Regions from separate parts of the Homo sapiens genome. Here all the other regions are linked to region 6. Evidence: promoter capture Hi-C in 16 types of primary human blood cells and fetal thymus (Javierre and others, 2016). All regions are on one chromosome and are shown on one strand. Each heading gives the region's core, a stretch centred on a gene start or on the middle of the fragment in contact. The rest is flanking DNA. Distances are from core to core; before and after follow the strand shown.

The links. The method cuts DNA at HindIII sites, captures the fragments that hold promoters and counts their contacts. A CHiCAGO score of 5 or more calls a contact.
Region 1: a fragment that was not itself captured here is called in contact with the fragment with the promoter of YTHDC2 in region 6 in 4 of 17 cell types (monocytes, total CD8 T cells, naive CD8 T cells and 1 more); the score reaches 6.8 in monocytes.
Region 2: a contact is called between a fragment that was not itself captured here and the fragment with the promoter of YTHDC2 in region 6, in 3 of 17 cell types (total B cells, total CD4 T cells and fetal thymus). The highest score is 7.7, in total B cells.
Region 3: a fragment that was not itself captured here is called in contact with the fragment with the promoter of YTHDC2 in region 6 in 1 of 17 cell types (total CD4 T cells); the score reaches 5.8 in total CD4 T cells.
Region 4: a contact is called between a fragment that was not itself captured here and the fragment with the promoter of YTHDC2 in region 6, in 2 of 17 cell types (naive CD8 T cells and total CD4 T cells). The highest score is 5.7, in naive CD8 T cells.
Region 5: a fragment that was not itself captured here is called in contact with the fragment with the promoter of YTHDC2 in region 6 in 2 of 17 cell types (naive CD4 T cells and activated CD4 T cells); the score reaches 5.4 in naive CD4 T cells.
Region 7: a contact is called between a fragment that was not itself captured here and the fragment with the promoter of YTHDC2 in region 6, in 6 of 17 cell types (fetal thymus, activated CD4 T cells, total CD4 T cells and 3 more). The highest score is 6.1, in fetal thymus.

The regions. Positions count from the first base shown.
Region 1 is chr5:112,733,381-112,737,171 of GRCh38, forward strand. It overlaps a transcript of APC not described here. Among named protein-coding and RNA genes, the nearest start is that of APC, 2.6 kb to the right of the region's middle. The HindIII fragment of the contact is 2,763 bases long and covers 1,161-3,791 here.
Region 2 is chr5:112,550,991-112,554,319 of GRCh38, forward strand. No RefSeq gene overlaps it. Among named protein-coding and RNA genes, the nearest start is that of LINC02200, 76 kb to the right of the region's middle. The HindIII fragment of the contact is 571 bases long and covers 1,240-1,810 here.
Region 3 is chr5:112,790,923-112,794,457 of GRCh38, forward strand. APC (APC regulator of Wnt signaling pathway) reads left to right here. Exons shown (of 16, transcript NM_000038.6): 7 at 1,524-1,607. Among named protein-coding and RNA genes, the nearest start is that of APC, 55 kb to the left of the region's middle. The HindIII fragment of the contact is 9,096 bases long and covers 1-3,535 here.
Region 4 is chr5:112,697,747-112,701,322 of GRCh38, forward strand. No RefSeq gene overlaps it. Among named protein-coding and RNA genes, the nearest start is that of APC, 38 kb to the right of the region's middle. The HindIII fragment of the contact is 3,631 bases long and covers 208-3,576 here.
Region 5 is chr5:112,822,843-112,826,547 of GRCh38, forward strand. All of the region lies in intron 11 of APC (APC regulator of Wnt signaling pathway), which reads left to right. Among named protein-coding and RNA genes, the nearest start is that of SRP19, 37 kb to the right of the region's middle. The HindIII fragment of the contact is 7,562 bases long and covers 1-3,705 here.
Region 6 is chr5:113,512,340-113,515,792 of GRCh38, forward strand. YTHDC2 (YTH N6-methyladenosine RNA binding protein C2) reads left to right here and starts at 1,355. Exons shown (of 30, transcript NM_022828.5): 1 at 1,355-1,743; 2 at 2,933-3,023. The coding sequence starts at 1,557. LOC124901046 (a long non-coding RNA gene) reads right to left here and starts at 1,319. Exons shown (of 2, transcript XR_007058905.1): 1 at 1,092-1,319; 2 at 1-601. RefSeq lists enhancers at 1,111-1,160, 1,157-1,658 and a silencer at 1,611-1,840. The HindIII fragment of the contact is 3,291 bases long and covers 46-3,336 here.
Region 7 is chr5:112,768,010-112,771,765 of GRCh38, forward strand. The region is part of intron 4 of APC (APC regulator of Wnt signaling pathway); the gene reads left to right. Among named protein-coding and RNA genes, the nearest start is that of APC, 32 kb to the left of the region's middle. The HindIII fragment of the contact is 648 bases long and covers 1,622-2,269 here.

The DNA of each region.
Region 1 (3,791 bases), core at 1,292-3,791, 780 kb before region 6:
GGGTCTTTAAAGAGGTTACTTAAGAGTGGAAGAGGGAGGCAGAAAAATGAGAGTCAGAGAAGGAGATTTGAGAAGGGGCAAGGTCAGTCCTGCAGAATGAGAAAGACTCAGTCCACCATTGCTTGCTCTGAAGATGGAAGTGAAGTGCTATGAACCATAAAATACAGTGGATCTGTAGAAGCCAGAAAGGATAAGGAAACAGATTCCCCCTTAGAGCCTCTAGAAAGAAGTGCAGCCCTGCAGACACCTTGGTTTTAGCCTAGTGAGACCCATTTTAGACTTCTGACCTACAAAACTGTAAGTTATCAAATGTGTGTTTTAAGACACTAAATTTGTGGTAATTTGTTTTGGCAGCCATAGGACATTTAATACGCCTAGGAACTATTTTATTGTAGGAAGACTAATTAACATGACCTCAGGGCACTCCATGACTAAACTCCAAACTGTCTCTGTTCCACTGTCAGCAGTAGAAAGACATGGAATGTTCTTGAGCAAAAGTGTGAAGAACTATTTTGGTGTTTGCTGATTAGAGAGGATATTGGTGAGAGGAAAATTAATTAAGATTCTATTAGATGCTAGGAACACTTCTTTTGAGACTCACTCCTTGAGGTAACATAGAACATACTGGTAAGTCTTGCCCGTAGAAGACTATGAATATATCTCCCAGTCCTGTGTGGCTGCTCACGTCTGTAATCACAGCACCTTGCGAGGCCAAGGCAGGAGGATCACCTGAGGTTAGGAGTTCGAGGTTACAGGGAGCTGTGCTTATGCCACTGCACTCCAGCCTGGGTGACAGAGCAAGACCTCGTCCCTGAAAAAATGGGAGATGGTTAGGTGGATGGATAGACAGACAGACATATAGATAAAGATAGACACGTGGGTCAAGATCTCCCACTTAGTTTATACATCACTGAAAATCTCATTGCCATTGTAACATTTCACCTCGTTCTCGTATCCCATGAAAAATACAGAACCAGTTAGGCACACATCTAACTTATCTCTTCTTAGGCTTTTCCATCGTACCATAACTAACTATAAGATCCGAACACTGAAAGGTTTCTAAATCTGAGCTTTATTTGATGCCTTAGTACCTGTAGAAGTTAAATTTATACTAGTAACTGTTTTTTCAATGCATAATTATTATTTTGAAAGAAAAAAAAAGCTTGTTGATATCTGTAGGCATAACTCTATTCTATGTCTAAGGTCTTCGGTAAAGAGAGACGATTAAGTTTATCAGTAAAGCACCAGAGTCAATTAAGGCGACTGAAAGGAGCACTAATTTTAATTCATTTTACACTAGTTAATATTGTCAATATTCTTCTTGTCAGTTTTTTAAACCAAAAGTCTTAAATTAGGCCAAAAGTGCCTAGGTAAAAATGGAATGGAAAGGGTTTTCTTGTGTGTGTGTGTGTGTTTTTTTTTTTTTTTGAGATAGAGTCTTGCTTTGTCACTGAGGCTGGAGTACAGTGGTGTGATCTCGGCTCACTGCAGCCCCCACCTCCCAGGTCCAAGAGATTCTCATGCCTCAGCCTCCCAAGTAGCTGGGGAATGTAATATTTAAGACATTAAGAATCCTATTAATCCTATTTAGTCATTTTTTTTTGTAGCTGCAGAAGGTTCAGAAGGGTTTTTTAAGTTGAATTATATGTTCATATTTACAACATTTACATATGAAACCATTTACTAAAAGCAATGAAGCTGGTTATAACAAACACTGATACTGAAAATAAGAGATATGTTTGTCAGTGCGGTCTTTAAACAGTGTTACACAATTTATTTCTGTTTCATTTTGATCAGAAAAAATATATATATCTTTTGAGACATGGTCTCTGTTGCACAGGCTGGAGTACAATGGCGAGATCTCGGCTCACTGCAACCTCTGCCTCCTGGGTTCAAGTGATCCTCCCACCTCAGCCTCTAGAGTAGCTAGGACCACAGGCGCGTGTCACCACAGCTGGCTAATTTTTTTGTATTCTTGGTAGAAATGAGGTTTCGCCATGTTGCCCATGCTGGTCTCCAACTCCTGAGCTCAAGTGAACTGGCCACCTCGGCCTCCCAAATTCCTGGGATTATAGGCATGAGCCACTGCACCCTGCCCAGAAAATATTTTTAATGCATACATATATATATATATATATGTATATGTAGTGTAAATAACATCTTCAATCAAATAGAGATGGCAGGAGCTTTATTCTGAGCTATGTGCAAACTTGATAAGACAAGGTAATGCTTCAGTAATTTTCCATGCTGAAATTTGGCCCAGTATACTTTGATTATATATCTATATTTAATTATAGTTTTAAAATAGCTAAGCAGTTTTAAAAATTCAAATTAAACTTTTGTGGAATCTCTAAAAATAAGAAAAATATTACTGAGTAATTGGCAACATAAAATACAAAATGTTTAACTTGGCTTTCTTTTAGATTTGAAGCATAGTGACTAATGAACATATAATGGTCGTAGCTTTCTTTACAACTATGTCATTTAAGTCACTGATGAATATCTATGATACATGCAGTAAAAATTTAGACAAACATTTTGGCTACAAACTGGTTTACTAAATAATAGCTTGTATCATAGTCTGAGTCAAGAGTAATAGGCTTACAATTGTGTCTTAGGGTACTAAGAAGTTCTTTTGAGGACCTTTTAAAAGGTATTCTTTGTTTTGAAAGACTGTTTTCCTTCTGGAAGTTCTAGGCCTTATGAGAAATTACCTATTCTGAATTTGTCACAAAAAATGACTTGTAAATAAGTCCTGTGCAGTGAATCATGTGCTTTCAGTAAGAGGATTTTGAAAGCCTTTTGTAAAATGAAGTCATTCTCAAAAGAGAGTTATTTAGAATATAATCAAATTGATTTACATGCTTTTATTTATTTCAAATATGAAGGGAAATTGTTTCTAAATATATTTAAACTTTTAATAGAACAGTAGTATGCCATCAGTGTGGAAATAACTCACTTGTTAAATAAATATTTGGGGTGTATTTGCTGTATATCAGGCATTGTAACACAGGGACTAATGAAAGAGAAAAAAAACAAAGCACGAAAGGACAGCAGAAATAGCTCCATAATCTCACTTTCCAGGAATAACCTCTATGGACATTTTGTTGTGTGTCTATTGCTTTTCTAATATATACATTTTTTAATCAAATGGAATTGCCTCAAATATGCTATTTAATAGCTTGCTTCTTTTCATACTATTTGAAAATTAAGAAACGATTATAATATGCTTCATTTAAAAACTTTAAGTTTAGGCCGGGCACAGTGGCTCACGCATGTAATCCCAGTACTTGGAGGGACCGAGGTGGGCGGATCACAAGGTCAGGAGATTGAGACCATCCTGGCCAGCATGGTGAAACCCCGTCTCTACTAAAAATACAAAACTTAGCTGGGCATGATGGCACGTGCCTGTAGTCCCAGCTACTTGGGAGGCTGAGGCAGGAGAATCGCTTGAACCCGGGAGGTGGAGGTTGCAGTGAGCGGAGATTGCACCACTGCACTCGCCTGGTGACAGAGCAAGACTCTATCTCAAAAAACAAACAAAGAAAACTTGAAGTATAGTATCCTTTTAAATTTTAAATAGATAATAGAAACTGGTTTCCCCCCATTTAAACCAGAATTTAAGTTTAACTTTATATATTCTTGACAGTTTGGATTTTGTCCTTCAACCTCATAAAATTGGGAATTTAAGCATCACCTGGTTCGATTTAAATGCAATGTAGAATTTGCATTAAAATACTACATTAAAGCCTCAGATTTGTAGTAGCTAACAGCACTTCTATGTATGTGTC
Region 2 (3,329 bases), core at 275-2,774, 960 kb before region 6:
AGGAGCCAATAACCCAGGCTCTTTATTAAATGGTTTCCCCTGGTGCCACCCTCATCCAGCCACTTTTTACAGCTTTCCTTTGTCTCACCAGTCTTCAGCATGGCTCAGGAATGAAAAATACTCACCTAAAACTACCAAGATTTTTCAGTGCAGGGAAATCTTGTGCTTGGTTGCATCCACTTAAGATTCTGAATGGTTTATGTCTTCCTGAACTTTAAGGATAAATTCCTCTGTGGCCAAGGGGAAAACAGTTGAGATGGTGGGTTGCTATTTTCTTTAACATTGATTTTACTTACTTTATAATCAGCCTACTTTGCCTGGGAAAGGAAGGTGACATTTAAGAAAACAGTCTGGAGAATGTGCTATCTGGTGAAACTCAGCTAGACAGCTCTCTTGGTTGTTTCAGATTTCTTTAGTAGCTAACAAAGACAGTAGCTCAACTTTTGGCAGAAGCCCATGAGAATGGAAAGTATCCATTTGGAGTCTCTTAGGAGATACTTTGTGGGAAATTGTGCTTCCTTGGTAAATTCTGGTCTATATTACAGCAGGCTGTGGAAGTGTGGCTTTCTATACACACAGTTTTTTAAAAGGTATTGCTGGTGACACAGATCTACACATCTAAACACTAGGGGGCAACCTTGCCTTTTGTGTCACCAATCAAAGCCATTTTACAGAACCATAATATTTAAGGAAATACATGGAACCATCAAATCTCAGCCTTCTTCTTCACCAGTTTTATTTTAATATTGGCATCCAGATGTTACAAACGGCCAAAGGCCATTCTTAAAAGCAGATCCAAATTAGGGGAGGATTAAATGTATATAGACTTGAGTTTTTCATAGCATTCACTGGAAGGAACATCAGCAGCCTCACAACTGTTAGAATTCCCTCCCGCTCTGGGTGTGGACATTCATTGATTAAACGTTTATTTCAGGCAGCGGGGATTCTCTGGTGAACAAGAGACAAGGTCCTTGCTTTTGTGGAGCTTGCACTGAAGTAGAGGAGACAGATACTAACCAAGTAAACGAAAATAATTTTAGGTAATAATTTCAATGAAAAATAACACCGTAATGGAATAGAAATAGGGCATGAGGGGAAGAGAACAGTGCCAGGAAAGGCCTTAGAGAAGCTGGCATGTGACCTGAAGCCCAGATGAGAAGGAGCCAGCCAGACCAAGGGCTGGGGGAAGAGTGGTCCAGGCAGAGCGAAGAGCAAGTGCAGCAGCCCTGGGTAAGGACAAGCTTTGGGTGTTTCAGAATAGAAAGAAGCCAGTGTAGCCAGAGCATGGAGAGGGGAGGGAAAGGTGGGATAAAATGAGGCTGGAAGACCATCCGGGTTCAGACCACATAAGGACTGGTTGGCCAAGGAAGGAGATGAATTGTATTCTAAGTTCGATAGAAAGCAGTGGAGGAAGAGTCCAAAGGGCGAAGGGACTCGAGTTCACCTTCGCTGTTATCGCCGAGGATGTATTCTGCTCCTGACAACACTCACATTGCTCCAACCTAGGACCTCTCAGCCCAGAACAGAGCTCAGAAGCCCAGCACACCCCAACGAAGGCATCCTTTAGAGTGTGGATCCGTGCAAGGAAAAGGCAGAGGCAGAGGCAGAGGCAACATTTTGGAAACACTGAACCCTGTGGCCAGTACCCATTTTCCTCTGAGAAAATATTTCAATCCACAAACCTCCTTTAGGCCAGAAAGGAAAAACAAAAGAGGTAGAATTTCCCACTGTGATATGCACAGATCAAATTTAGGCTCTAGGACACCTGAGTTCTGTGTGGCTCTCTTTTTTGCCTGGCACCAAACAATGAAGCTTTATGATAAACAATGATGGTGACAATTTGACAGGAGACTTGGTCTATCTCTTGCACTAACTAAGGCATTTTAGTCAGAGGGCAAACATTCTGTAGTAAATGAAGGCTGGCTCAGTTAGCCTGAAGCAAGACTTTCCTGTCCACGCAGTCATACCCAGAGTTGTTTATGAGCCGCTCTGCTTACTTAGCTTTGTGGTGGGGCACTGACTGGCATCTCAGCAGGCTGGAGTAGAAGGGAAGAGGAGGCCTTGCCACCTGACTACACAAAACAAAGGTGTAGGACTGCATTTTCCCACATAACTGCATGTGGGCACGCAAGTGCTCACAGACCGATAAGCTGCTTTTCTATGACTTTTTCCCCTTTTTGAGGTTGTTCTGGATGAATGTCATTACCTGAGAAACTGGCCCATACAAGTAACATAAGTGAAGAATGTATATGTTGCAGGGTCTGCATCCAAGAGGAGAGGATGTGCCCCATCGAAAGGGAACAGCTGCCACCCAGCTCCAGTCAACTGTTTCCATGCAGGAATGTGGGGCCAATGCTGTAAGATCTCCTGATTTGTCTACAGAAACTGGAAATCCAGATTTTTTTGTGCGATCTCCTCTTTAAATGTTTGCAAATGATTTAATAAAAAATATCGCTGAGCTGCCAAGTAAATTGTGTCTGTGGGCTTGACATGGTCTGTGGGTCTCTCATGTATGAACTCTGCTTTAGTCAATTTTCTAACATTTATGAAAATTTCAAGTGTATAGAGAAGGTGAAATAACTACAGTGCACAGCTCTAGATGCCTATCACCTAGATTCCACTTGCTTTCTCACCTATCTTTTCATTTATTTATTTTAACTGTATGGGAATTTGAAGGGGCAGGAAAGAAGGAAGGAGAGGGGAAAGTCCTGTAGAGGTGACTCTCGTATCAACTCATCTCTGAAAGTTCAATTGCATCCATTCACCTGGTTTTCTATTTGGCCTTGATGTAAAACTGGACCCCCAAAATGAGGGACTTCAAAGCCCTTTTCAGCTGGGTGCCTTGAGCAGATCCAATCTGCCTCACAAAGTGAGATTCCAGGGCTAAGCCCCTTGATGCTGGAGGGTTTTGTGAATTAGGGAGAACACATCTTCTCCCATCTCCCTGGACATGGAGATGAAGTGAGAGAAGTGAGAGAAGTGAGGCCTACAAGATCTGGGCAGTGCTATGGGTTATGGATTGCCTTCCACTGACCACAGTTTAGTCAGAAAGGGCCAGATGCAAACCGTGGGATCTCGACCAGGAGGAAAAGCATGCATTTAGAGGTGTCACTCACTCTGAGTATGTGTGAGCAGGCCTCTTTGCACAAGGGATGCTCATTTTGTGTGAAAAGTTAGAGACGAAAGCTTTGACTGTGCAAACTGATTATTTTAATTAAGTCCCATGAGACTTGATGCAGAATGCTTTGCAGAGGTTGAAAATAGCCTGTATCTGGGTTCCCACATGTGCACCAAGACCCAGGGAAGATATTTAAATCCTGGCAGCAGCT
Region 3 (3,535 bases), core at 686-3,185, 720 kb before region 6:
AAACAGTTTACTTTTATAATATAATTTTTGATTTCTCAATATTAGGATGTCAATAACTATAGAATTATTACAGAAAATGGTACAACATTGTCAGTACTTGTTTTTAAAACATATGTGTTTGATTTGTCATAAACTAGCTTTATGAGACATTTGCAAAGTCTTTATTCATAAGTGAGTTGTTTTTTCCACTTCCACTAGTATTCATAAAAGTTAAAATGAAGTCTAGCTTAAAAAACACACACACACACACACAATATATTCCCCACATTGTTTCCATTCCATGTGGTTCAATCTGTAGTTACTGCTTTGTGACCAGTTGATGGTCTCCATATAGTGGAAAAGCAAAAGCTCTATCCTCTTTATGATCCTAGTGTTGGAGAAAAAATAATGTTTAGCCACAGTTAGGTACTTGGAAAGGCTGAAAAATACTACTAACTTATGACAGAAGTAACTTTGGGGAAGAGTTGGGCCTACTGTTTAAACCAGGGGTCCCCAGCCCCCAGGCCACGAGCAAGCATTACCACCTGAGCCCTGCCTCCTGCCACCATCAGTGGCTGCATTAGGAGCATGAACCCGCTTGTGAACTGCACATGTGAGGGATCTAGGTTGCGGGCTCCTTATGAGAATCTTATCTAATGCCTGAGGACCTGAGGTGGAGCAGTTTTATCCTGAGACTTCCCCTGCCCCAGTCAGTAGACAAATTTCTTCCACGAAACCAGTCCCTGGTGCCAAAAAGGTTGGGGACCCTGATATTTATTAAAACAAATCAGATGTTCTTTCCCTTTACTGGTATACTATGTTTATATAAATTTATTATATTGTATTAATGTCTCGATTAATATAAAAGATTAAATGCAGGTGTAATTTTCTCTTTGTTGAAATATTTTTTGAGAATAAATTTTCACAATGTGTATTGTGTCAATTTTCATAATTCATGCAACATACAATTTGATATATGACTTGTATTTCCAGTTTTACTAAGCAGATCTAGACATCTGTTGAATAAAGTCCAGTGTATTACAAAAAATTGAACTGACCCAGGGCCGGGCACAGTGGCTCACGCCTGTAAGCCCACAGCACTTTGGGAAGCCGAGGCAGGCGGATCACAAGGTCAGGACTTCGAGACCAGCCTGGCCAGTATGGTGAAACCCCATCGCTACTAAAAATACAAAAATTAGCTGGGCGTGGTGGTGCGCGCCTGTAGTCCCAGCTACTCGGGAGCCTGAGGCAAAAGAATCACTTGAACCCGGAAGGCGGAGGTTGCGGTGAGCTGAGATTATGCCACTGCACTCCAGCCAGGGCAACAGAGCGAGACTCTGTCTCGAAAAAAAAAGAAAAAAAGAAAAGAAAAATTGAACTGACCCCAATTTGTTATTAAAGGGTGAATATATTTATATGTCTAGCTTTTTAAATGAGAATGATTTGACATAACCCTGAGCTTTTAAGTGGTAGCCATAGTATGATTATTTCTATTAATATTATTAATAAAAACATAACTAATTAGGTTTCTTGTTTTATTTTAGCGAAGAATAGCCAGAATTCAGCAAATCGAAAAGGACATACTTCGTATACGACAGCTTTTACAGTCCCAAGCAACAGAAGCAGAGGTTAGTAAATTGCCTTTCTTGTTTGTGGGTATAAAAATAGGTAGTTATTCTGAGAAAAGAAAACATGTATAATTTAATGTGACACCATTGAAATATAGATGTTCTTTCAGAGAATTTAAATACCGTAATTTTTTTCGTGAAATTAAATTATCAAAGATTTGGACTATTTTGATTTTATCTAACTTTTAGGCAGTTAAAATTTATAAAACTGTAAATATAGATACCTTACTTTAGCTGTCAGTTTACATATAATCAAATAGTTAACTTAATTTGGCTACTATCCAGTAAGTAAACTTTTTTATAGATAATCCATAGTAAGAATTGATAATACACATTTACCTGTGTTTACTCCAGAAACCCCATTAAAGTGATAGTAAAAGGATACAATGAAAGAGGCATTAAGACCAGGGAAGGTGACCACAGTAAAATCCGTGGAGCTGGAAAGCAGGTAAACAAGTGATAACATTCTAGCATATCAGAGAGGGTTGACCCATAAGGCAGCAATAGGAATGAAAAGTCATGAAGCAACTAGATACCTCTGGGTGTGAGAGTAAAAAAGGGTTAAAAGCAGGAAGATATTTGAAAATCTGTTAAGAAGCAGATGGACTTTCCAGAACCTCCCTACAACCCTGTACAGCTAGGTGACTGCTCCTTTCCAATCCCAGCAAAAGATGAGAGCTTTCTCCTCTGAAGAGGTGGAGAGGGTAAACAAAGGGTCTTTGGTTAGGGGTCAACCTTGTTTAATTGAACGTGAGGGTATCATACGAAACACTGAATTACATGAAAATTTACCTACTGAATGCTGAAACCCCCACTGGCATCCAGGCTTATAATCTCCAGGCAAGTTTCTGGAAGGAACTTCTATAAGGAATGTGACTAACCCTGATTCTGCTGAGAGAACATTAAAAAGGGAGAAAAAAAATCAGAAGAATGTGACTAACCCAAGAAAAAAAACTTAAAGAGACTTACATGGAAAAATTCACCCAACAAAACAACCCACCTAGATCACCCTATAGGGTAATATAGTTGACAAAATCCATTCTTCAGGCATAGAGCTTCATTTAACTTTTTCATAGATAGCCCGCTCTTAAATATGAGTGGACACTAACTACCAGACAGTATAGATCATTCTAGGAAGGTTCAATATCCAAATAAAAGGAGTTCCAAAAAGAAAATGGAGAAACTGGAGACAGGAAATTAGAGAAATAAATCAAAATTTCTCAGAAATTTTAACAAGGGGCTTAGTTTTCCAAAAAATTGGTCTCTCCAGTATCTAACATCATGTATAAGAATAATCCTACACTAAGACACATCATGAGGAAATTTCAAATCACTGGGGATAAAAAGAATATTCTAACAACCTTCTGGAGAAGGAAGAGAAAACAAATTTCACATAAAGGAACAGGAATGCAAATGCCTTTACATTTGTAAATAACAGCACTGGAAACTGGGAAGTAGGGTAGGCATTTCTTAAAACTTTTCTTTTTTTAAGAGACGTGGAACTAAGTCTCTTAAAAAAAAAAAAAAGGTAGGATGATCTAGCTGGGTTGTTTTGTTGGTGAATCCTGCCATGTAAGTAAGTCTCTTTAAAAAGTTTCTGTCACCCAGGCTGGAGTGCAGTGGCGCAATCTCGGCTCACTGCAACCTCTGCTTCCTGGGTTCAAGTGATCTTCCCACCTCAGCCCCCGAGTAGCTCATGTGCCACCATGCCTGACTAATTTTTGTATTTTTTGTAGAGACGAGGTTTTGCCATGTTGCCCAGGCTGGTCTCGAACTCCTGAGCTCAAGCAATCTGCCTGTCTTGGCCTTCCAAAGTGTGGGATTACAGGCGTGAGCCACTGCGCCTGACCCCTGTTAAACCTTTTAAAAGAAAATATGTGCAGCTATGTTTTGACCCCAGTTCTTTGACACCACTGTATATCCTCCAG
Region 4 (3,576 bases), core at 773-3,272, 810 kb before region 6:
TAATTGGTGTCATAAAGATTTTCAAACTTGCTCTATGACCAATTCAATTACTGCTGGAAATGGAATTCATACCTTCTCATGTCTGCCTTCCAAATTATACCAAGATTTAGCAGCTTATAACAAGAAGTATTTTTTTTTCACAGTTTCTATTGGTCAGGAATTTGAGCATGGTTTACCTAGGTACCCGTGCTTCAAGGTCTCTCATAAAGCTTTCAGCCAAGTCTGTGCTATCATCTGCAGCCTTGACTGGGAGAGTCACTTCCAAGCTCTCTCACATGATTGATGGCAGGGAGTTCCTCATGAACTGTTGGACTAAGAACCTCAGTTCTTCACTAGCTTTTGGGCAGAGGCCTCCCTCAATTCCACGTCAGGTGGGCCTCTCCATAAGGCAGTTTATGTTCTGGATTGGAGCATGTCTTCCACCTTGGTTCATCCATCATTTCTTGTCTTCTAGACACTTGCCAAATCTCTCATCAGCTGATGGAACATTCTTCATTCTCAATAGTCACAAATTTATTCCCTTTTATGCAGTTATTGGGCAGGGAACAGACCCAGGTTTTATCATGAAAGGGTGTTGCATTTTGTCAAATGCTTTTTCTGTATCAAATGATGTGATTACACATGAATTTTCTTCTGTAGCCTGTTGTATGTAGATAATGTAGATCACATTGATTTTCGAATATTGAACTAGCCATGCATACCTGGGAGAAATCCTACTTGCCATGTCATATTTTTTTTAAATATATTATTGGGTTTGATTTTCTAGTACACTCAAAATCCTCCATATCTGTGGGTTCTGCATCCATAAATTCAACCAACTGCAGATCACAAATATTTAGAAAAAGAACAATAAAAATAACAATATAACAATGAAAATAATAAAAATAAAAACCAATATAGTATAACAACAAGTTACATAGCATCTATCCTGTATTAGGTATTACAATCATGAAGTGCATAACAATATTTTAGTCAATAACAGACCACATATACAACGATGATTTCCTAAAATTATCATTCTATATTTTTGCTGTAACTTTTCTATGTTTAAATATACACACACCTACCATTGTGTTACCATTACCTACGGTATTCAGTGCAGTAACCTGTTGTATAAGTATGTAGCCTAGGAGCAATAAGCTAGATCATATATCCTATGTGTGTCCTAGGCTATACCATCTAGGCTTGTGTAAGTACATGCTATGATGTTTGCACAATAACAAAATCACCAAACGCATTTCTCAGAATGTATTCCTGTCGTTAAGCAGAGCATGTCTATAAAGTCATCTAGAGGTGATTTAACATATACAGAGGATATGCCTGGATTATATGCAAATACTGTGCCATTTTATATAAGAAACAAGTATCTGTGGAATTTGGTATTCTCAGGAGCTTGAAACCAATTCCCCATGGATTCCAAGAAAAAACAATGTTTCGTTGAGGATTTCTGTGTCTAAGTTTATGAGAAATATTGGTCTGTAATTTCCTTTTATTCTACTGTTTTTGTCTAGTTTGGGTATCAAAGTAATACTGGCCTCATAAAGTGAATAGAGAAGTAGTCCTTCTTCTTCTATTCTCTAGGATAGAATGTTTAAAATCAGAGCTTATTCTTCTCAGAATGTTTGGTAGAGTTCTCCAGTGAAACCATCTGGGTTTGGAGATTTCTTTTTCCAGAGCGTTTTAGTGGCAGTTCAATTTATTTCATGGTTATAGGACTATTCTGTTTCATCTTGTTTGAGCTTTGGTCATTTACGGTTTTCAAAAATTGGTCCATTTCTTCTAAAGTTGTTTAATTTATAAGTGTACATGTGTCCATGGTATTCCCTTTTATTCTTTTAATAGCTGCAAGAATTATAATTATATCCTGTTTCATGACTGATATTGGTAATTTGTGCCCCCTCTCTTTTTATTTTGTCAGGCTTGCTAGAGGTTTATCAACCAGCTTCATGTTCTATTGATTTCCCTATTGTTATTCTTTTCAATTTCATTGATTTCTGCTTTTATCTTTATTATTTCCTTCCTTTTGCTTTTTTTGAGTTTATTTTGCTCTTCATTTTTCTTGAGGTAGAAACTTAGGTGATTAATTTGGGATCTTTTCTAAGGTAATCATTTTATTTTTTTGAATGTAGTCATTTAGTGCTATGAATTTCCCTCTCAGCACCACCTTAGCTTCATTCCACCAATTTTGATATGTTGTATTTACATTTCCATTCAGTTCTGTATATTTTCTAAAACTTTCCTTTGAGACTTCCTCTTTGCTGAGGTATTATTTAGAATTGTGTCATTTAGCCCAGGCACAGTGGCTTACGCCTGTAATCCCAGCACTTTGGGAGGCCAAGGTGGGCAGATCACTTGAGGTCAGGAGTTCGAGACAAGCCTGGCCAACATGGTGAAACCTTGTCACTACTGAAAATACAAAAATCAGCCGGGTGTGGTGGTGGGCGCTTGTAATCCCAGCTACTCGAGAGGCTGAGGCAGGAGAATCGCTTGAACCCGAGAGGCGGAGGTTGCAGTGAGCCAAGATCGTGCCACTGCACTCCAGCCTGGGCGACAAGAGCAAAACTCCGTCTCAAAAAAAAAAAAAAAGAAGTGTGTCATTTAATTTTCAAGTGTATCGAGATTCTCCCATTGCCTTTCTCTCATTGATTACTAATTAAATTTCATTATGCTCAGAGGACATATTCTGCATAGTTTTGTTTTCTGGCCAAAGATGTGGTGTGTCATGGATGCTTTAAAAAAAAAAAGTGTATTCTACTGAGTGTTGTATTAATGTCAGTTAGATCCTATTGATTAATTCTGTTGTTCAAGTCTTCTATGTATTTGCTGATTTTCTGCCTAGTAGTTCTATCAATTACTGAGAGAGGGATGTTGATGTCTCTAACTGTAATTGCAGAGGCCCATGATAAGGCATTGAATTTGAAAAAAAAAATACAACGTTTGAATATAAATTTAGGTGAAAAAGTAAATATTTCTTTAGAATGAAAAAATAAATCTAGAATGCTGACACAAAATCCACAAGCATCACAAAACCTGGAAAAATAACACAAGTGCATTATTTTACTGCCTGACATACCTCTGTAGTTTTGTCCTAAATTTTTTTCTAGATGCTCTTTAAGTGGTGATTTTGTTTTATTATAATTTAATAGATTGAATAGAAATATAATTGTCTTTCTTCTAACATGGTTAATCACAAAATTTTTATTATTGATAGTTTAGATTTTTTTCAGCTTGACAACTTGTTATTAGTAATGGCTTGTGATTTCTTAAGATTGTTATCTCATTTGGGAAAATTTCCATCATGTCTTTTCTTTTTCCGTGTTACCTACACGTTCATTTTCCATATGTGCTATAAAGTTTGGAAGAATTTTCTATAGACTAACTTCTGGCTGTATACATACTTCGGGTTCAGGTGCCACAGAACATGTTCATGTTACAACACAAACTCTGGTCCTGCCCCATTGTGTTAGAATGCAGACAGAGTCAGGCACTGGACTGTAGAAGTACTCCTGGAAGTTATTACTCCACTAAGATAGTTATCAATAAGATACTAGACACAGACATAACTATGAATCACAT
Region 5 (3,705 bases), core at 1-2,500, 690 kb before region 6:
ATTTATCTTAAAAGTGATGAAGTCATGAGACTCTTACACAGAGAACCTGAACAGCCAAAAGTATTGTCTCCTTCAGAGTCATCACTTTGGGAGGCTCTGCACCTTAAGATTTCAGGCCTGCCCTCTGGCCATGCTTTCCTTCCTAGTGGTGTAGCAATTGGCCTACCTGATTCTCTTTCCTCCCCCTGGTCTCCTGTGGATTCTCAGTTAATCTTATGAATTCTCCCCTCGTTAATACAATCTCAGCATTTGTGAACATTTTAAATTTTTTAAAATGCTAATCATAACAGGAAGGGGATAAAAAATAATGAATAAACAGGAAAACATTCAGTTTTAAGATACCTCAAAAGTTATTCTGTAAATGTTCCTGTATTCCAATGGATTGTAGACTAGGACTGAGACATTAATCATCTGGATTTCAAAATAAAACCTAGACTCAGTATTTGTTCCTCTTCCTTCTTCAGGTAGGAAGGCTACCCGGGGCATTTCATCACAGGAGCTAGGGCAGGGGCTTTCAGGTGAGGAGCAGGATGGGGCCTCTGGGGGTGTGACTGCTGGGGACATAGCCACAGGGGATTACCTTCTTCTCACTCCTCACCTCCAGATTTGCACTGGGGCAAAAGGAGGATTAGGGTGTGTGGATTGCGGGGAGATAATAGTACAAGACAGCACAAGGTTTTGGCAGTAAGGGATAAGGAGAAAAGAAATCCCAAATAGGTAAAGGGGAATTCCTTAGTTCAGTCAGCTGGGATGGTCATTTGTACATATATGAAGATTCTACAGCTATCAGTCATTTAAGTTTGCACTTATTAGTATTAGAAGTTTTAGAATATAATTTCCATGATATATGTTTATTGATTCCCTAATCTACCCCAGAAACTGTGCTAGGCACTAGATTTTTATAATGATTAAGACCTGGTCCTGGCTTTCAGGGAACTCACAGTTTATTTGCATTAGTGTTTCACAAAATACCTAAATCATAATGATCACCCAGAGGCACTCGTCAAACTGGATTTTCTGGCACTGTAGCAAACAGAATCTCCAGGGGAAGGGCCTAGGAATCAATGTGATAAGTGGCCTGGCTGATTCTTATGTTCGGGAAATTTTGTGAAACACCAGTAGAATATTCTTGTTGAGCCTGTGATATTTATTTTAGAACAAGGCATTTCATGCTAATGGTGACTATCTAAACCAAATAAAACAAAAGCAATATGCTTTTTAAAATTATCAGTCTTTCTTTTGTTCATAAGAGTCTAAATTAAGGATTCTGTTGAATGTCACCTGAGTCTGTTGGTGCTCTACTATCGGTAGTTTTACCCTATTGGGCAATAGTCCGGTCTATTTAGACCACTGTTTTCTAACAGGCACCAAGAAAATTGTAGAAGGACATGTTCATCATCTTTGCATTACCATGAAACATCCTGATTTTTCTTAGAGCAACCAGTTTTTAATTGTATCAATCCAGTCATGAATTTGCATATTTTAGCAAATCCATTTATAGGTTTAACCTATGAATTCTATTCTGTGCCTCAAAATTCTCTGAAATCTTTTCATTTGCCTGAAATCAAAAAGCACTTCCTCTTTTATCTGATAGTCTAAATTTTTTTGAATGTTCTTTTTTTATTAGCCATGTTCTTCCTGAATCTGTTGATATCTGCCACATTCTTATTTAATCTTTATTTTCAGTATCAAATCCTAAGATTTTTAGTTTTTCCATACAAGAGTACTCAACTCTTTGATCATGTAGTGCCTTCTTGGCATCTTCTTTAGGTGCATTTTATCTTTCTTAAGAAAGTATCCCAGTTATTGTCACACCAGGCAAGATTTTATACAGACAAAAGGCATAGTTTGTTTTGTTTTGGTATTGATCCTCTGCTTTAAAATACTCGACATCTTGGGGATCTCATTAGTATACCAGGCCAAGTCTTAAGGTCTTCCCTGTCAATTTCATGGGTCAAAATTCTCAGTTCTTTTACAGGCTCCTTTTCTTTTACCCAAGTGTAAAATGGTGGAATTCCTTGAAGCTCTGCCCTAGGCTCTTTTCCTTTCTCTCTATGCTTCTGTTATAGTTTTTGTTTTTGTTTTCAAATTTACAGCTCAATTTGAGTTTTTTCCCTGAGTTTTAGACACATTATTGAACTGACTATGTGACATCTTCCCTTAGGTGGTATTTTAGACACTTCTAACTCAACTGTCACAAACTGAATTCGTAATCTTTCCCATCCCTGAATCTCTTATCTTTTCCCAGTTTCCTTTTCTCAGAAATTCCAATCCAGTTGCTCAAATTTCAAAATCTTGGAAATCATTCACGATGCCATCCTTATCCCCTGCAAATAGCAACTGACTGCTTTAATTCTGCTACTTAAAAGTATCTTATGTCATCACTCTTCTCTTCATCCCCAGTCCAAGCCACCATCGTCTCTCCTGTTCTACAATACTTTGTCTTACTTCTCTTCCCATTTCCACTCATAGTCGATTTTGTTCACTGAAACCATAGTAATCTGTTTAGAGTGTGCATCTAATTATTCCTTTTTCTGCGTAAAATCTTTAATGTGGCACATAAAGTCTTATGTGATCCGGCATCTACCCATGTTTATAGCCTCATTTTGTGGCCCTCTCCTTGCTGTTAAATATTTCAGGCCCAGGGGCCCTTTCACATGCTGTTTCCTTTGCTTAGAACGCATCTTTCTTCTTCCTGCCCCACCCTTGTTAGATACGCATTCATCTGGCCAGACCTGATGGCTCATGCCTGTAATCCCAGCACTTTGGGAGGCCGAGGCAGGAGAATCACTTGAACCTAGGAGTTCGCAACCAGCTCGGGCAACATAGTGGCACCCTGTCTCTACCAAAATAAAAATAAAAAGAAAGATACACATTCATCCTTTACGTTTCAACTTAAACATTAAAAGATTATTTCCTCAGCCTTTTTCTTATGGAGCCTAATCCCAGGTCTAAGTTAAGTCCACCTATTATATCACCCTGTGGTTCTACATAGTTCATCTATCTTTGCTCCAATCTGTACGCTCTTCATAAAGACAGTGACTGATTTTTGTTCACTGTCTCTGTATTTTGCCACTGTTGCAGGTGAATGGAGGAAAATTTTCCTAAATATGATTTGGATTTTCTTTAACCAAATTAATTTTCACTTACCTACATTCAAACATGTCTGTCATTCCTGCTAGTAATAAAGTTTTGCATAAATCTTCCTACATTTAAATCCCTTGGCTTGGAATTCTTGACCCACGACAGAACTTTGTTTTACAAACTTGCAGATTCTTCTGCATATTGAACTTCCCAGATCACTTATTAAAAATATTAACGTACTGGCTGTCTTGCAGATGAATGACCTAATTAGACTTGTAGTATCCAAGAATTGCCTGTTTATATTCATCTTTTTCTTTCTGAGTCCCGTGATGATTAATATTTGATGAATTATATTTTGAATAGCCTCCACATGCATTTTTCTCTTTTGTTCACTTCCTCACCATTTTGCTTCACTTTTTTTTTAACTGCTTCCTTTGTGTCTTTCCCATTCCTTTACCTTTGTTTTCTCCTTGACTTCCTATTGTTGGCCATTGTGGGCATTGTTTAGCATTTTCAGTGGAAAGAATCAGGGGAAAGAAAATACTAAATCTTAGTATAGTTAATATTTGATATTATCAACGAGAAGTAAGAAATGTTTTGAAAAACACAAATCAGTAGTTT
Region 6 (3,453 bases), core at 105-2,604:
GGTGCTGGTGGATGATTGGGCCATAGTTGTCAGTGGGCTAGCCTAAGCTTCTTTACTTTGTGGAAGAAGAATTCTCAGCAGCAAAACAGGCTAAGCCTTAATGCACAAACACCTTTCAAGCCCCTGCTTATCTCGTATTTGCTGATGTCCCAATGGCCAAAGCAAGTTACATAGCCAAAGACAGAGTCCATGTGGGAAGGAAGAATACAAGGGTGTGAACAGAGGAATGTGTGATTCATCAAAGGCCATACCTTTGATGAATTCAACAATTTACCATAATGTTACAAAAAAAAATCTTCCCAAATCTCAGCAGTTTACCACAACTAAGAATTATTTCTTACCCATGTCATATTCCAATGTGGGTTGGTGAGGACACTCTATCACACTCGTTCAGGGAATCGGGAACCTGTTATCTATCTAGTGGTTCCACCGTTGTCTAAGAACTTCCAGAAGACCAGGAAAGACAGAGAAGGGAAGATTCAAGGAAGGTGTTATAGACCAATCCTGGAAGTGGTATACATCAGTTCCAGCAACATTCCAATGGCCGGAACTCAGCCATGTGGCCCCCAGCTAACTGCAGGAGAGTTGGGAAATATAATGCCTAGGAAGAAAAGATACTTCTTGTCACCAAATATTCCGCCCCCTTCTTACCACACACAGAATACACATATACCCTCCCCAGACACCTGGAATTCTATCTAGTCACTGCATCCAGGATCTGTTGTTGATACACAGTCCTCTTTATTAGATCCAGATGTATATCCTCATTGCCAGGTAACTCATGAACTATGTAAATATGTACTACATACCTGCCCCCACTCAGCTACCCTGTGTAGCGTGATAGAGCAAGGGTGGCATACTTGCATTAAAATCTCCCATTCAGAAAAGGGAAGAATGCAAGACACACAACAGTGGCTCATTCTTTAGTATATGTATTTTTTATGATATTTTTCCAAATATTGCATGGGAAATATATACACTAAAAATTATTCGTTTATCTGAAATGCAAATTATTAAGCATTCTGTATTTTTATTTGCTAAATCTGGCAACCCTCCTCCCACTAAAATATAAACTCCATGAAGGTAGGAACCTTGGCTCTCTGGTTCTCCAATGTACATCGAAGGCGTGGCATAATGCCAGGTCCACAGTAGAAGCCCATACATGCTTACTGCAGGAATTAATGAAGGACTAAACGAAGTAGCAAGTGAGTGAATAAGAAGATGAGGAGCGACCCTTGGTGGGCGGCGCGGGAAGAGAACCGCACCATAGCTCCGCAGACAGCCTCCTTTAGGCGCGCAGCGGCGGCCGCGCTGAGGTCACGGGCGCCGGCCCTGGTGACGTCATTACGCCCGCGCTCCTCGCCTGGCCGTGATATCAATGGCGCAGGCTTCACTTCTGCTGTGGCGGTGACTGAGGCCTTTCTGGTGACCTCAGCCCAACACAGGCCGTCTCCGGAGCTTCCCGGTAGTGGCCCCGGATTCCCACGGTCTTTGTCATTGGCTGTCAGCTAGCAGGCCTGGCCGCTCCCGTGCGGAGAGACCATCTCTTCAGGGCAATGTCCAGGCCGAGCAGCGTCTCCCCGCGGCAGCCGGCTCCTGGCGGTGGCGGAGGCGGCGGCCCCTCGCCTTGTGGCCCTGGGGGCGGCGGCCGGGCCAAGGGGCTGAAGGACATTCGCATTGATGAGGAGGTGAAGATCGCAGTCAATATCGCGCTGGAGCGCTTCCGATACGGGGACCAGAGAGGTGAGGTTCCGGACAGGGACCATGCTGGCAGTCAGGATACCCCCCTCACCCCAGCGCCCCCCAAACGGCGGCCCACCGAGTGATGGGGGTGCCTCCGAAGAGGGAGGGAAGACCCGGGCCACCGTCCGGGGCGGGCCTCAGCGGCGGCACCCGGGTCTGGAACGCGGCTGTTGGCCCTGCGGTGGAATGCGAGGTGCTCTGCGGATCAATGGGGTTATGGGCACTTTGCTCCCTAGCTGAAAGTGTTTTTCCCCCGCGTCTTTCAGCAGCCTTGGGCGGTTAAGCCACCGTGTTTCAGATATTGGTTAGCCCTAACCCTTTTTAAGGGGGTGTCACCTAATTGTGGCACGTTTAAGCTACAGATGTAGAAGAGCAGAAAGAAATCAAACATATAAATAAATGCACCAGCAATACGTTTGGACCCTGAAGCATCACGCTACCCACTTAAATTAAACTTGTTTGGCACACGAAGCATCTTCCACACCTCTTGAGGTTAGATAGCCACTTGTCTTGGGTCATATAATGCAGAACCAGCAACTGACCTGCGGTGACCTGTGCAGTCTGTTGAGGGCTCATTCGGACCTGCTGGCTTAGTTAGGGGACCTCTTACTCTGGAATCTTATAGTCCAAAACGGGGAATGTTCTAGACAGAGAGATTCTAAATTCACATTAAAAAAAGAGAAAGCCTCAGCAATATATAACAAATCCCTCTGAAATAGTGAAATACGAATTCTGTACAGTTTTGAAAGCAAAGACAATGGAGTTTCATGTTGAGAATTCATAATATTTGAACATATCTCATCATTGAAGAAAATAAACATTTTGTTAACTAAACAAGTAGGGACCAAGTTAAATATGTTCAGTCATTATACCAACTCAAAATTCCAGAACAAGTAAGAGGAGTCGTTTTTGGTGAATATCAGAGGCCTTTATCACATTTAGGTTTAATACATAGCTGTCTTTTTATTAATATCAGAATTCTGATAGACATTCAGTAGTTATTGAATTAATAAAATATCTTAATTTTATTAATTTACATAAATAGAATATGAAATATAAAGTTAACCTCAAATAAAGTATAATAAATTTGATTGTCTATGTATGTTTTTCATATTTTGTATCTGTGTGTTTTACTTGAGAGAAAATTGCCTATCTACAAATTTTACTACTTTGTTTTTTTTCCGTGTAGAAATGGAATTTCCTTCTTCTTTGACCAGTACTGAAAGAGCCTTTATTCATCGACTCAGTCAGTCTCTTGGTTTGGTCTCTAAAAGTAAAGGGTAAGCTGGTAGCTTTTCTTATTTTTTTTAAAAAAGATTATTTGCCCAAAAAAGGGAGAAACGTTTCTGAGTACATTTAAGTACTTATTACTGTTTTAACTTCACATTCTTAATTGTATCATATGTAGATAAAAGATTCAGGTCTGTACCAAATTCAACTCTTTCCTCTTCCCTCTGTCTACCTCTTCCCCCCTTTTTTGTTTTGTTTTGTTTTTCCCTAGGAAAATGCTTTTTCTTCTACCCAGCTTAGGTTCCTTGGCTGGGACCCTGCAAATTAGACTGATAAAAGACATATTAACAAGAGAAAAACATAAGCTTATTAAGACATGCATCATGCATACATAGGGGAGAACTCGATAGTAACTCAAACATGGGGCTTATGTGGCATCTTAATAAAGAACAATGAATTTATTTAAAAAATGACAAGACA
Region 7 (3,756 bases), core at 696-3,195, 740 kb before region 6:
AGGACTAGCCTGGGTGACATAGTAAGACTCTTTCTTTTTTTTTTTTTTTTTGAGATGCAGTTTCACTTTTGTTGCCCAGGCTGGATTGCAATGGCACAATCTCGGCTCACTGCAACCTCTGCCTCCCAGGTTCAAGCGATTCTTCTGCTTCAGTCTCCCAAGTAGCTGGGATTACAGGCATGTGCCACCACGCCTGGCTAATTTTATATTTTGAGTAGAGACAGTGTTTCACCATGTTGGTCAGGCTAGTCTCAAACTCATGACCTTAGGTGATTCCCCCCTGCCTCGGCCTTCTAAAGTGCTGGGATTACAGGCATGAGGCACTACACTTGGCCAAGACTCTGTCTCTTTACCAAAAAAAAAAAAAGAAAAAAAGTAGTAACTGGATTTTTATTGAATTTCTGATTATCTATTGAAGTATATTCAGTAACTACTAGATTCAGTAAAAGATGACTCTTTTCATTATGGAAGGCCCACTACAAGTGGCCACAAATGAAATACTTCTTTTTTTTTTTTTTTTTACTTTATAAATAATAATTGTACATTTCATGGGGTACATAGTGATGTTTCTACACATATAATTTATTGCAATCAGGTTAGCATATCTGTCATCTCAGACATTTATTATTTCTTCGTGTTAGGAACATTCACTGTCTACCATCTAGCTATTTGAAACTATGTAATATTGTTAACTGTGCTCATCCTATGGTAGCGTAGAACACAGCCCTGTACAGTAGCGTAGAACACAGTCCTGTACAGTAGCGTAGAACACAGTCCTGTACAGTAGCGTAGAACACAGTCCTGTACAGTAGCGTAGAACACAGTCCTGTACAGTAGCGTAGAACACAGTCTTATACAGTAGTGTAGAACACAGTCCTATACAGTAGTGTAGAACACTAGAACTTATTCCTCCTATCTAGCTGTAATTTTATATTCTTTAACAAATCTCTCTTTATCTCTTCTTTCCCTCTGTGTTTCCTAGCCTCTAGTATTTACTTTTTACTTCTGTTAGTAAAAAGTAAATTTTTCTTTTTTTTCTTCTTTTTTTTTTTTTTTTTTTTGAGATAAGAGTCTTCCTGTCGCCCAGGCTAGAGTGCAGTGGCGCAATCTTGGCTCCTGCAACCTCCACCTCCTAGGTTCAAGCAATTCTCATGTCTCAGCCTCCCGGGTAGCTGGGATTACAGGCACGCCCCACCGCGTCCGGCTAATTTTTGTATTTTTAGTAGAGATGGGATTTCACCATGTTGGCCAGGCTGGTCTCGATCTCCTGACCTCAGGTGATCTGCCTGCCTTGGCCTCCCAAAGTTTTGGGATTACAGGCATGAGCCACTGCGCCTGGCCAACAAAACATTTCTTAATGTATAAGTTTTAATACCTGAAAAAAAATTGCTTGATGTATGGAATGAGTTCTGATTTTTCACAGCTAGTGTATTAATTCTTCTCTTCCTAAAGTTAACATTATCTCACTGCAGATACCAAAATATAGATCATTATCAGGAACTTCGTCAAATGTTTTATGTCCCCTAAAAGATTCCTTAATGCACATATTAAGGAATATCTTTATTATCTTTATATTTCTAAAAGTTCTATTAGACATTCAGAAAATGGTAAAATATATAAAAGCTTCATATTATCTCTGTGACCTTGGTTAAGTCATTAAATTTTTGTACCATTTTCTTCTGTAAGATAAAGATATGGTTCTACTTTGTGGCATTGTTGTGAAAATTGAATATTAGTATATAGGAAATGCCCAGCATATCTCCCTGAGAGGCAGAAGACCTTTTATAACTTTCTCTCCAGTTTCATATATGCCCATTTATAAAAATAGGGATAATTATCTGGACGAGAAATGATGTTTCACTGTCTTTTATTTCTTAAGTTTACATAAGTCTCTGTTTCATACATTGATCCTAGACTATTGAAACACCATCTTGAAAAATAAGGAGTGAACTTGGGTCCATAATCTTCCATCTCTTTTTCCCCTTTGAGCTCTATTAAGAGGCAGAGGGCATGCATACTAACCTTTCCTTACTTGCTTTCTTTTCCTTACTTTGCTTTATGTAGGCAAAGTCCTGATTTTATTAGCAGAGAGAGGGAATTTCAGAGAAAAATATTAATTTTTGAAATAAGTTTTACTGCAAATACTAGTAAACCTAACAAATACAGCTGTAAGTGGTAAGGAATACTTGTAATAAAAATGTTCTTAGTTTCTGTCTTGACATTATTTCTTGCTAGTCTTCCAGAGTTCTTTGCATCTAAATCTAGGAAAAGCTTATTTCTCTGTTCAAAGACTTAAATGCAATGATCCCCATGTTTTATTTATTATATAATACCACTGTAAGTAACTTTAAGCTAGTATTCTGACTTTTAACTCCAAGTGGAAAATACATTTCTTTTTAAAAATATTTAAAGGTGCTTTAGCCTTTTCTGTTGTTACTGTAGAAAAGACGTCTTGTTTTTGTTTTCGTTTTTCTCCCAAAATATGGCCCAACTTCTAATTCAGGCTTTATTACACTCTATAAAAAGTTGCTTTATCTGGAGAGAAAGAGGTATCAACATGGTGTTGTTAGAAGGTTCTCAACTCTCACTGATCATTAGTATCACTAGTTTAGCTTTATAAAGCATCATAAATGAAAAGTATCAGTATTCCTTTGCTATGTTCAGTCTCATTTCCCATGAGATAGTTACTTCTATAACTCTAAATAATATGTTTATATTGCTAGTATTGGACATGACTTACTGACTCACCACTCTGAAAGATGAAGATTTGTTAAATTCACTCAATTATCCATCCAGTTTTTAATTCTGTACCAATTCTTTGGTCGAATTTGTATACATATACACATAAGCAAATACACATACATATATATAAGTTCTATTTCTTGTTCTTTCCTGTGAGTGACTGTGTCTACTGAAGCCCCGCTGTATAAGATTTGGCAACTGTGTGTTTACCTTTATTTTGTTAAGACTGTTAACAGTTACATCATACTATATATATTTAAGTCTTCATGTTTTTTTATTCTGTAAATTAAGCATAATGTTGATGTGAAATAAGTGGGTTTTTTTAGGACTCTGTAGTCGTTGGACACTGTGAGTCAGTAGTATGCCAGAATTAATTTTTGCTCCCTATTGATAGAATATCATACTCTTTGTGCTGTTTAAAGGAAGATGATGCTATTTGGACTGTGTCTTTCTTATATAGCTCTTTGTTTTTGTCTCAAGTTTCTAATTGCCTTTCTTTTATGTTTTCGGGAGCAGAAACTTGTGCCTTTATGATAATATGAGGATCTAGTTTCATTTTATTCATAAATAAATTTTTATTGGAGCCAATGAATTTTTCTGATCTAATTTGTACCATTTGCTTCCTGAGCCTGCTACAAGACTGTCATACCACTGTTGTCATTATGCTTCCCATTTAGGTCTAATATGTTTGGGTGTTCTTGACTCTTGCTGTGTTGGAGAGAGATAAATTGATTTCTTGCTTGTGTGATAGTATACTTATTTTGCTCTCACACTTGATTGATAGTTCAGGTAGGTTTAGGTTCAAACTCATTTTTCTTCATTATCAAGGTACCAATGAGAAATTTGATACCAGTCTGAATCTTATTCCTTTGTAGATGGCCATTTTTCCTCTTTGGAAGCTTTTGAATGTTTTGGTATGCATATTTTCCTCATTCATCATGCTGAATATTTACTGTACCCTTTTGATCTGGAAATTTATTTATTCAGCTTTTTTCTGTTATATTACTTCTTTGA